Regions from separate parts of the Homo sapiens genome. Here region 2 is linked to region 1. Evidence: promoter capture Hi-C in 16 types of primary human blood cells and fetal thymus (Javierre and others, 2016). All regions are on one chromosome and are shown on one strand. Each heading gives the region's core, a stretch centred on a gene start or on the middle of the fragment in contact. The rest is flanking DNA. Distances are from core to core; before and after follow the strand shown.

Evidence for each region. The method cuts DNA at HindIII sites, captures the fragments that hold promoters and counts their contacts. A CHiCAGO score of 5 or more calls a contact.
Region 2: a fragment that was not itself captured here is called in contact with the fragment with the promoter of RTL3 in region 1 in 1 of 17 cell types (megakaryocytes); the score reaches 5.1 in megakaryocytes.

Annotation. Positions count from the first base shown.
Region 1 is chrX:78,657,901-78,663,630 of GRCh38, reverse strand. RTL3 (retrotransposon Gag like 3) reads left to right here and starts at 4,303. Exons shown (of 2, transcript NM_152694.3): 1 at 4,303-4,370; 2 at 4,983-5,730. The coding sequence starts at 5,211. The region is part of intron 1 of LOC107985670 (a long non-coding RNA gene); the gene reads right to left. The HindIII fragment of the contact is 2,616 bases long and covers 3,347-5,730 here.
Region 2 is chrX:78,884,259-78,889,942 of GRCh38, reverse strand. No RefSeq gene overlaps it. Among named protein-coding and RNA genes, the nearest start is that of MIR4328, 14 kb to the left of the region's middle. The HindIII fragment of the contact is 5,006 bases long and covers 1,522-5,684 here.

The DNA of each region.
Region 1 (5,730 bases), core at 3,054-5,553:
AATGGCCAATTTTGGTATTCTTTCTCCTCAGCACCACAGTCACTCCTACATCTTCCACTTCTACACTCTTACTGTCCTCTTCAGTCCCACTGAGGCTCTACCATCACTCCTTCAGCAGTCTGCAAACCTTTAAAGACCATATCACCCACTATGGACTAATTAAGACCTGTAGAGGTAAGCTTAAACACTTAAAAGATAATGCTTCATTATTTTATCTAATTTTTAAAATGCTAAACTATAAAATTAAATTTTATCTTTCACTGACCAAAATGTACCTATGCTGAGGTTTTAAGCTCCTTTCTAGATTTCCTGATATTATCTTTCCTTCTCCTCGCCTTCTCCCCTACCCTCTCTTTCTCCCCATATCCCTCCCTCTTTTTTTCTCTCTCTCCCTTTCTCCTTCTCTCCATCTGTAGCCCCTCATCTCCCCGCTTCTCCCTCCATCTTGTCTTTCCCCATCTCTCCTGCTTTGCTGGTACCATCAGCTTAAACTTAGTCTGACTTCTGGGTGAGCCAGCATTGGTAGGCCTCAGAGAGTAAGAGGTCCAGGAAGTAGAGGAGAAGGACAGATCTCTACAATAAGTGCATCCCCAGAAGTGGGGTTATAGCAAAGTCCCGCATTCCGTGGTTAGGCTGTGATGGCAGTTTCCTCAGCCCTGGTGAGGAAACTAAGGCACCCTGGTGCCTTCACAAGGATTTAGTGAAATCAGAGCATTAAAATCATTAAGCATATCTGCTGCTAATACTAGGGGCCATATTGGGTCAACTTTATAAGGAAATCAAATATAAGGCCACTGACAAGGTGTAATCTGAAGGACACCAAAATGATATCTCTGACCAAGGGTATCTCTCCTAACAGAAGAGTCTTGAATGGATTGCAGTCTTTCAAAATATCCTATGAAAATGCACACACCCCCAAGAAAGATTTTTTAAAGTCTTACGAGTTAGTATTTCAGTAGGGCCTTACTTTCCCAGTGTGACAGCTGATCAAGCGGAAAAGCCTCCTAAGTATGGGATAAGAAATAAAGTGAGAAGGTTGTAAATTTCGTAAAGGGAGATGAGTGACAAATTTTGACTCCTGTGTGGGATAGACTCTGTTTCCATACCATTACTAGGTCCTCTGGGTCCTGGCCTTATGAGTAAAGAGAATTTTTGGTCAGCCTTCTAACTTCCAGAGAAATTGGGAACTCCTGTTGCCCCAGTGCTATATTATGGGGTGTTGTTGACAATGAAAAGTTTCATTCTGTACTAATCACATTATAGGTTAAATTTAAGAAAGTGTTGCAAGCTATAATGTAACCATAGGAATAATATGTTAAATAAAACACACACCAGGATGGGACTGCCCCCAAGGGGTGACTGGGCCTTGCGCCAGAGACCTGTAGGGTAAACTGTCCCATTGACTGTTTTTCAGAGTGGGAAAAGGGAGGGACAGAAGCTGGAGTTGCTTAAAGATGCAGCCCAGCCAGCTTAGGGGAGGAAGACCCTGGGAGAGACCTAAAACATTTAGTTTGTATATTTGCCGACGAAAGAAAATTATGAGCCAGTGGAATGTACAAAGTAGAACTGCATTGCATTCAACCTTTTCTTTCCTTTTCTCCCTAAGCTAACAATCAGCATATGTAGCTTATTAACATAACTGAGCCTGAATATTTCTTATTAGTGTGTAGTCTTTTTATATCTGTTAAATGAGCATATTTGTCTCTTTTCTCCCTGAAATATTCATTTGCATAGTTAACAAAATCTCATTTACTTAAAATATTTTCATGACCGTTCTAAAGGATCCATACATTCCATCATATTGTAAATGTATGAAGAAGAATTACAGTGTAGGGGAAACATGATGAAAATTTGGATGTGATTACTTTCTTATTCTTACTTTCCTGTTCTCACTTAACTAATTCAGGATGCTGAAACCACTTTAGGCGTTTTGACAAAAGTCTGTGTAGCTGCCTTTTCCACCCAGAAAAGAATAATTCTCTATGTTTAGGCAGTTTGAACTTGTACTTAAGGACGGTGAATTCGGTCTTTGCTGTTTAGTGTAGGGGGCTGGGGAAGGAAAGGTTTCTGTGTTTATACACTGAATAAATATTCCTGTAGGCAAGACACTTTTCAGTGCTTTAGTCCATGAACTTTTTAAACATCTATCTTGGCTGCTTCACAATTCCAGTTTTAATCTTCTAATCTTCCTGCTCAGGTGCCTCCAGTCCTGATTCTAGAGTACTATCTGGAAACTAAACCATCTATATCCCAGCAAGGAAGAATAGATAAAAGTTCCCAAGTGGTGAAAAACCAATGCTGTAAAATCGATGCACTGTAGATTTCTCGGTATGAGACCCCTTTCTCAGCCTCTACACAACTCTAGCATGTTTACCTATTCAGTTTCCCAATTCACAGGTGATTAAAAAGAATAAATTAAAATGAGATTACTGCTGCTACAGCTTATTATTATTATTATTATTATTATTATTAACCTTTATTGGGTGTTATTAGCTGCCAGACACTGTGCTAATCCTTTTTTCACACATTATTTCACTGAATTTTTGACAACCCTATAAAGTCAAATAATATTAATAACTTCATTTTACAGTTTCATAAACTAAAGTTTAGATTCTAACTATCAGAAGGATGAAGTAATTTGCCAAATTTGTATAGGGTAAGTATAGACAGGCATATAGGTATAACATGAAGGGCTATGTTACAACTTGATTGCAAAAGAGTATAAAAATATAAAGGAAAAGAAAATACAAGAAGTCGCAAAACATAGCAATTTGGAAGTTTTTAATTTGAAGACAGACCACTTTATACCTCTCAGTAGCTTTCAGAGGGCAACACTGTGTTACAACAGGGTAAACTAGCTGGTTTGTGTAAGTATGAATCCAAACCATTAAAACTGGATTAAATTATATGCAAAATCATTTCTTAAGAATGGACAAAGAGGTATAACATATGCTATAAATATTTCTCTGATTTTTTTAAATTGAAATACTCTTTATTAAATTTCAACTTGATGTCCAGTATTGAACCTTCAAACTCATTGTTACAGAAATTGCTAAACATTAGGAAAGAGTTTCAATTAATAGTTGTTCCCTAACTAAGCCCGTTACAAATTCAGGTGTTGGAAGTTCTCTTTTCTTTCTGGATAAAATAAATGTTAACTGTGTGTTTTGGCTTCTTGGAGGGCAGGAAGGCTTCAGTTATCTGAAAACTTCACATAAATAGATCACATCATCCCTGATGATGGTGGTATTTTTATATGTGTGGTGTTTCTAGAAAAATAAAACTTTGAAAGGTAAGGAAAGAATAAACTCGATTTGCAAAAGATTTTGTTTTTACTTTCAAAGCTTCTGCATTCGGATTCAGGTAGCCCAGTCTGTCAATTTGCTATGTTTTGGGCCTATTCCATCACTAGGGTTTATCCCATTATGCTGACTAATGCAGAACTGACCATTTGTGAAGGAGACATGGGACTGTGGTTGACATGATGTGTGATTTGAAATGGCCAAATGCAAACCTCAACCCCACTCCTTACTTGGATAAAAATAGTTGCCCCTAAGCCTTGCCTAAAATGGCCACATAGCCCATACCCAAGGCATAACTGTGATCTGGCATGAGAAGAGAAAGTGAGATTCTGAGCAGGGTTACTTCCCAAGAGGCCAGTCTTTAGTGAATGTCCTGAGTGCTACCTGGAGCACCTGATCAGTTCAGGGAAGCATGAGATCTTTGGTCCAGGACATTCAGAAAGAGCCAGGGACTCTGTAAGACTGCTATAAGTACCCACCAACACAATTGGTCTCCCTGACATTTGTACCCTTTTATACCTTTTCTAGATCTGTCTGTGGCAAATTTTCCAAGAAAACATTGCAAGGAAAAACCCTAGGGACTGAATAGGTAGTAAGCAAGGGAAGGGGCTGAGGGTTTGCAGGCTGTTCCCTGAGTGAGAAGTAAACAAATGGCCCAATTTGGACAGAGTAAGAATAGGTTAGATGAGACAGACATAAAAAATCACATCCCAAACCACTGTGGTCATTCAAAAATGTTTGCAACTTTTCACAAGGGCAGTGGTATTACTCACAATTTCCTGGCCAAATATTCATTAAAGTAACCAAGGACTGAGTACATGAAGCTGCTTCACATCAGCACAGCATCCTACTTTCCTTGCAGCTCTGAACTGTGAGGTACTGTCAAAAAACTCTTCCACACTTTAAAAAGCTATGTTACAGAGGAAAGTTGGAATGTGTTCTGGGAGTGGGTGTGTTTGCTTGAGTTCAGTGTGTGCAGAAAAGGCAAGCCTCCACAGCCATTTACACATTTCCCTCCTCAGCAATGGGTACACAGACAGCCAAGCTCCTGGACTAAGTCTCTGAATGGTAACGTACATTTATAAAGATTATTTTCTTAACTATTTTGAGGTATTTTATAAATAATATGCATGTGTCTTCTGAGGGCATATATATATATATATATATATATTTAGTCGACTTTTGCTTGTTTTCTCCTGAGGCTGGTCTTGTGTGGTTACTTATGTGGTATGATTTCTGAGGTGTCAGAAAGAGCTCCCTCCTACTTCCTACCACCCTAGTCACCCAAAAATATCTCTTGGGCTGGCCCACCGCAGAGCCTAAAATTCCCACATTGCTCAAACATTTGATTTAGTCACTGAAAGCAGCTGTTAAAATCCAAATGTTACATTGGGATATTAGGCAGATATTCAAGATTAAAGACTATATAAAACAGAAAATAATATTAAAAAGTTGCTTTTGATATAATGTTAAGTTTCAAAGGATAAATGCAAAATGACATGTGCAGTTTGGGACAGATGCTGTTCTTAAAATGTCGTGGAGTCAGATCCAGCATATATACCCCAGCTCATGAACATAAGCCTATGGTAAAAGAAACCCAGCATTGTTGGGCAGATTTTGTTTTATGTTGAATGTGTGCTTTCCACAGTTTCTGATCCTCAGCTCCCACTCTCTTCGCAGTGTATCTGACACTTCCCCTTACTGAGCTCCGGAGGCTCCTTCTTGCCGAGCTCCGGAGGCTCCCAGTGACCTCTTGATAATCAGCCTTGGCGGGGCCCAAATACCACCCCTTGGAAAACTCACTGAGCCTGACATCTGCCTGTAAGCAGCTTTCAGGAAGGATCTCACAAACACCCACCCAATCTCTCTTGGTAGCAAATTGTCAAATCATACCCATTTCCTCAAAAGATGGTGGAGGACTTAGCAGCCTCCTATATTGTTCTGAAATTGGAGAATGAAATTCGGCAGGCTCAAGTGCAGTGGCTGATGGAAGAAAATGCTGCTCTCCAGGCCCAGATCCCAGAGCTTCAGAAGTCCCAAGCAGCCAAGGAGTATGATCTACTCCGAAAGTCCTCAGAGGCCAAGGAGCCCCAGAAGCTCCCAGAGCACATGAATCCCCCAGCAGCCTGGGAGGCCCAAAAGACCCCAGAGTTCAAGGAACCCCAGAAGCCACCAGAGCCACAGGATCTTCTACCCTGGGAACCCCCAGCAGCCTGGGAACTCCAGGAGGCCCCAGCAGCCCCAGAGTCCCTGGCGCCTCCAGCAACCCGGGAGTCCCAGAAACCTCCAATGGCCCATGAGATCCCAACAGTCTTGGAGGGCCAGGGGCCTGCAAACACCCAGGATGCCACAATAGCCCAAGAGCCCAAGAATTCAGAACCCCAGGATCCCCCAAATATTGAGAAGCCCCAGGAGGCACCAGAATACC
Region 2 (5,684 bases), core at 2,775-5,274, 230 kb before region 1:
GATTTCTCTGTAGCATGCAATGCTGTTTGATAGCATTTTACCCACAGTAGAACTTCTTTCAAAATTTGAGTCAATCCTCTCAAACCCTGCTGCTGCTTTATCAACTGAGTTTATGGAATATCCTCAAGCCTTTGTTGTCATTTAAACTATTGTCACAGCATCTTCACCAGGAGTACATTCTATCTCAAAAGAACACTTTCTTTGCTCATTCATAAGAAGCAACTCCTCATCCATTCAAGTTTTATTATGAGATTGCAGTAATTCAGGCCTATCTTCAGGCTCCACTTCTAATTCCAGTTCTCTTGGTATTTCCACCACATCTGCAGTTCCTTTTCCACTGAATTCTTGAACGCTTCAAAGTCATCCATGAGCATTAGAATTAACTTCTTTCAAAGCTCTGTTAATTTTGATAATTTTACCTTCTCCCATGAATCACAAATGTTTTTAATAGCACTTGGAATAGTGATTCTTTTTCTAGAAGGTTTTCTATTGACTTTGCCTGATCCATCCGAGGAATCATTGGATTTTGCAAGGCTATTACATCTATACCTTTACACAATGTAGTTCTTACATGATAAGACGTTAAAGTCATAATTACTCCTTGATGCATGGGCTGCAGAATAGATGTTGTGTTACCAGGCATGAAAACAGTATTAATCTTCTTGTACATCTCCATGAAAGCTCTTGGATCACTTAATGTATCATCAATACGCAGTAACATTGTGAAATAAATAGTTTTTATTTCTGAGAAGTAGTTCTCAAAAGTGGGGTTAAAATATTGAGTAAACTACTCTGTAAACAGACATGCTGTCATCCAAGCTTTGTTTTTCCATTGATAGAGCACAGGCAGAATAGATTTAGCAAAATTCTTAAGGACCCTGTGATTTTCAGAATTGTAAGTAGGCACTGGCTTCAACTTAGTCACCAGCTTCATTAGCTCCTAAAAAGAGTGTCAGCCTAGCCTATGAAGATTAAAAGCCAGGTGGTGACTTCTTCTCTTTAGCTATGAAAGTTCTACATGGCATCTTTTGCCAGTATAAGGCTGTTTCATCTACCTTGAACATTTGTTGTTTATTGTAGCTAACTTCACCCATTATCTTAAATATTGATGAAATATTATAGATAAATATTATCAATGACTTGCTTAAACTTCTACCTCAGCACTTACTGCTTCACCTTGTACTTTTATATTATGGCTCTTTAAACCTCATGAACCTGTGCTAGCTTCAAACTTTTACAGCTTTCTCACCTCTCTCAGTCTTCACAGGATTGAAGAGAATTAGGATCTTCCTCTGAATTAGGCTTTGCCTTAAGGGAATGTTATGGCTGGTTTGACCTATCCAGATCACTAAAACTTTCTTCATATCAGCAATAAGTTGTTTTACTTCCCTGATATTTGTGTGTTCAGTGGAGTAGCAATTTTAACATTCCTTAAGAAGTTTTCCTTTCCACTCACAATTAGGCTGTCTGACACAAGAGGACTTTTAGCCTCAGTTTTCAATATGCTTTCTTTACTAAGCTTAATTATTTATAGCTTTTTATTTAAAAAGAGAGACATACAACATTTCCCTTCACTTGAACATTTAGAGGTTTGTGTAGGATTATTAATTGGCCTAATTTCAGTATTGTTGCATCCCAAGGAGAGGGAGGAGAGCTGTTGAAATGGTCAGTCAGTGGAGCAGTCAGAACACATACAACATTTATCAATTAAGTTCACGTGTGCTATGCGGGTGCAGTTCATGGTGTCCCCAAACAATTAAAGTATTAACTTCAAAGATCACTGATCACAGATTACCATAATAGACAAAAAAAAATGAAAGAGTTTAATTATATAAAAATAATGAAAATGTAACAATTACCAAAAGGTAACACAAAGACATGAAGTGAGCACCTGCTGTTGGAAAAATGGTGCTGATAAACTTGCTGGTCACAGGACTGCCACAAACCTTCAATTTGGAAAAAAAAAAAAAAAAAGCAATATCTACAAGGCACAATTAAGCGAAGTGCAGTAAATTGAGGTATGTGCTTATAATACTGGATATAAATATGAGAAGACCCAAAGTCTTATAAACTTCCTTATTGCACCAAATTTTGCTCATTCAATGAAATTATGTTTCTATTTGTTAAAAAATGCATTTTTGATGCCTTGTTCTCATTTCCTTTGCTTGCTTCACCTTTTCCAACTGGTTCACACTTGCTCCCCCTTGCCAGTATATTTGGACTAACTACCATCCACTGTGGAAGAAGATAATTTGAAGAGACGTTATCGGTCAAATATACATACTCTACCAATATTAGTATCATCTTAAATTTCTCCATTAGACATTCGTTTATTTGGAACTTAAAAAGGCTATTGATTTTTTTTTGAAACTCTGAAAGTATCTGAAATTATTTCTCTCTAAGAGCCAGACACTAAGTGAGACTGCCTCTAAGTAGAAATGGTATCTGGGAAAAATGGGAGAGGTGAGTCATGAAAAGAAAAATATTTCTGAGAGAAAAAGGCAAGCAAATATTCAACAGTCTCAGATATAATTCATCCAGGTGTATCCTCACTCTTCCGTAAACATACTTGCTCATGGTTTTTATTTTCTTAAAATGACTCTTTTTTTTTTTTTTCTGGGTCAGAGTTCACTCTTGTTGCCCAGGCTGGAGTGCAATGGCACGATCTCGGCTCACTACAACCTCCGCCTCCCAGGTTCAAGGGATTCTCCTGCCTCAGCCTCCCAAGTAGCTAGGATTACAGGCATGCACCACCACGCCTGGCCAATTTTGTATTTTTAGTAGAAACAGGGTTTCTTCAGGTTGGTCAGGCTGGTCTTGAACTCCCGACCTCAGGTGATCCACCCGCCTTGGCCTCCCAAAGTGCTGGGATTACAGGTGTGAGCCACCGCGCCTGCCCTCCCCCCACCTTTTTTTCAGTATTTTAATACAAAAGTGTATTTCTTACTCATGCAACAGTCCAACAGAATGTTTTTTATTAAGTGACATTTCTAAGCAGTTCATCTTTTAGTAATGATTCAGGTCCCAGGCTCCATTCATCCACGACTCTTCCATCACTTTGGTCTTCTAAGTCCACTGATATTATTTGTTGCTTCTGACATCAGATGGGTGAAGACGAGGCAATAGAGGGTAACACCGATTCTTTTGCATTTCTTTCTTATAGCGTCTCTTCTATATACTTTATACACACTAGGTGGCAGTGCAATGAAAGAAGGAAAAGTAGAATCCAGAATCGGACAAAGATTGTACACAGATCACATCTTACAGCATCTTCATTTTTAAAATGAAAAAAACAAAAAACAAAAAAACTGGGGCCTCATTAGGGAGGTGACCTGTCCAAAGTCACAAGCTAGTTAGTGCCAGCACCCAGTCAGTTCCTTATCCATGTTCTTCAACCATTTTATTCTCTTTAGTCTCTCAGCCCCTCTGTTTTCCCTCACCCACACTCAGCTCTTCACTTTCTTCTCCAGCTAACCCAATTCCTTTTCTTGTGAGGTAGTCAACTCAAGGTACCTTGTGAGGTAATCAACTATTCTTATCATTATTTTCTAGATTAGAAAGGGATGCACAGAGAGGACAAGTACCCTGGTTGAGATCACACAGCTAATAAATAGCAAAGTTGTGTTGCAACACTAGACTCTAGGGTTCAGATTCTGTGCCAATAACCACTATTCTATACTACCAAAGTTATCTAATATCTACTGTTCCTTCTTAAAGTCCTGCACTTCCTTAATTTCCATCAGACATTTTGTCAAAGTTTGTTCCTAACTCTCTGCCTGTTTTCTCTCTGTATCCTTTAGTTTTTTTCTGTGTCAGTCTCTCAAATGGCAACATTCTCTAGCATTCCATTCTCTGTGTTCTCTTAATTTCTAAAATCAACAAGTCCTAAATTAAAATATAAGTTCCACCATTAACCAATTTTATTACCCTGGACAAATCATTTCATCTCATCAGGGTGAAGTGAGAAATAAATTACATAGCGTCTGGCATATATAATAGTAGATACTAAAAGAATACTAGTTTTTATTGTTACTATCATCATCATCATCATCAACATCATCATCGTCATCACCATCATCACCATCACTATTCCTAATTTATATTCATGGGCTCCACTAACTCCTCTATGCTGATCATTTTTATATAAAGGATCCAATCATAATCCTAAAAGATACAATCACAAATGCCATAATCTTGAATGCTGAAATCCCAAAACATCAAAATCCTGAAATTATGATCCTGGAGAAAGCAATTTTTAAAGTTATTTAAAAGCCATTTATTTACCTTTTGTTGTATAATTTAAGTTCTGGGATACATGTGCAGAACGTGCAGGTTTGTTACATAGGTATACACATGCCATGGTGGTTTGCTGTACCCATCAACCCGTCATCTACATTAGGTATTTCTCCTAATGCTATCTGTCCCATAGCCCCCCACCCCCTGACAGGCCCCGGTGTGTCATATTCCCCTCCCCCTGTCCATGTGTTCTCATTGTTCAACTCCCACTTATGAGAGAGAACATGCAGTGTTTGGTTTTCTGTTCCTGCGTTAGTTTCCTGAGAATGATGGTTTCCAGCCTCATCCATGTCCCTGCAAAGGAGATGAACTCATCCTTTTTCATGGCTGCATAGTTTTCCATGGTGTATATGTGTATATGTGCCACATTTTCTTTATCTGGTCTATCATTGATGGGCATTTGGGTTGGTTCCAACTCTTTGCTATTGTGAACAATGCTGCAATAAACATACGTGTGCATGTGTCTTTATAGTAGAATGATTTATAATCCTTCGGGTATATACCCAGTAATGGGATGGCTGGGTCAAATGGTATTTCTGGTTCTAGATGCTTGAGGAATCACCACAGTGTCTCCCACAATGGTTGAACTAATTTATACTCCCACCAACAGTGTACGAGCGTTCCTATTTCTCCACACCCTCTCCAGCATCTGTCATTTCCTGACTTTTTAAAGATTGCCATTCTAACTGGCGTGAGATGGTATCTCATTGTGGTTTTGATTTGTATTTCTCCAATGACCAGTGATGATGACCTTTTTTTCATATGTTTCCTGGCTGCATAAATGTCTTCTTTTGAGAAGTGTCTGTTCATATCCTTTGCCCACTTTTTGATGGGGCTGTTTGTTTTTTTCTTGTAAATTGGTTTAAGTTCTTTGTAGATTCTGGATGTTAGCCCTTTGTCAGGTGGATAGATTGGAAAATTTCTCTCCCATTCTGTAGGTTGCCTGTTCCCTCTTATTGTATTTTATTTTGCTGTGCAGAAGCTCTTTAGTTTAATTAGATCCCATTTGTCAATTTTGGCTTTTGTTGCCATAGCTTTTGGTGTTTTGGTCATGAAGTCTTTGCCCATGCCTATGTCCTGAATGGTATTGCCTAGGTTTTCTTCTAGGATTTTTATGGTTTTAGATCTTAAGTTTAAGTCTTTAATCCATCTTGAGTTAATTTTTGTATAAGGTATAAGAAAGGGGTCCAGTTTCAGTTTTCTGCATATGGCTAGCCAGTTTTCCCAACATGATTTATTAAATAGGGAATCCTTTCCCTATTGCTTGTTTTTGTCCGGTTTGTCAAAGATCAGATGGTATAGATGTGTGGCATTATTTCTGAGGCCTCTGTTCTGTTCCATTGGTCTATATCTCTGTTTTGGTACCACTACCATGTTGTTTTGGTTAC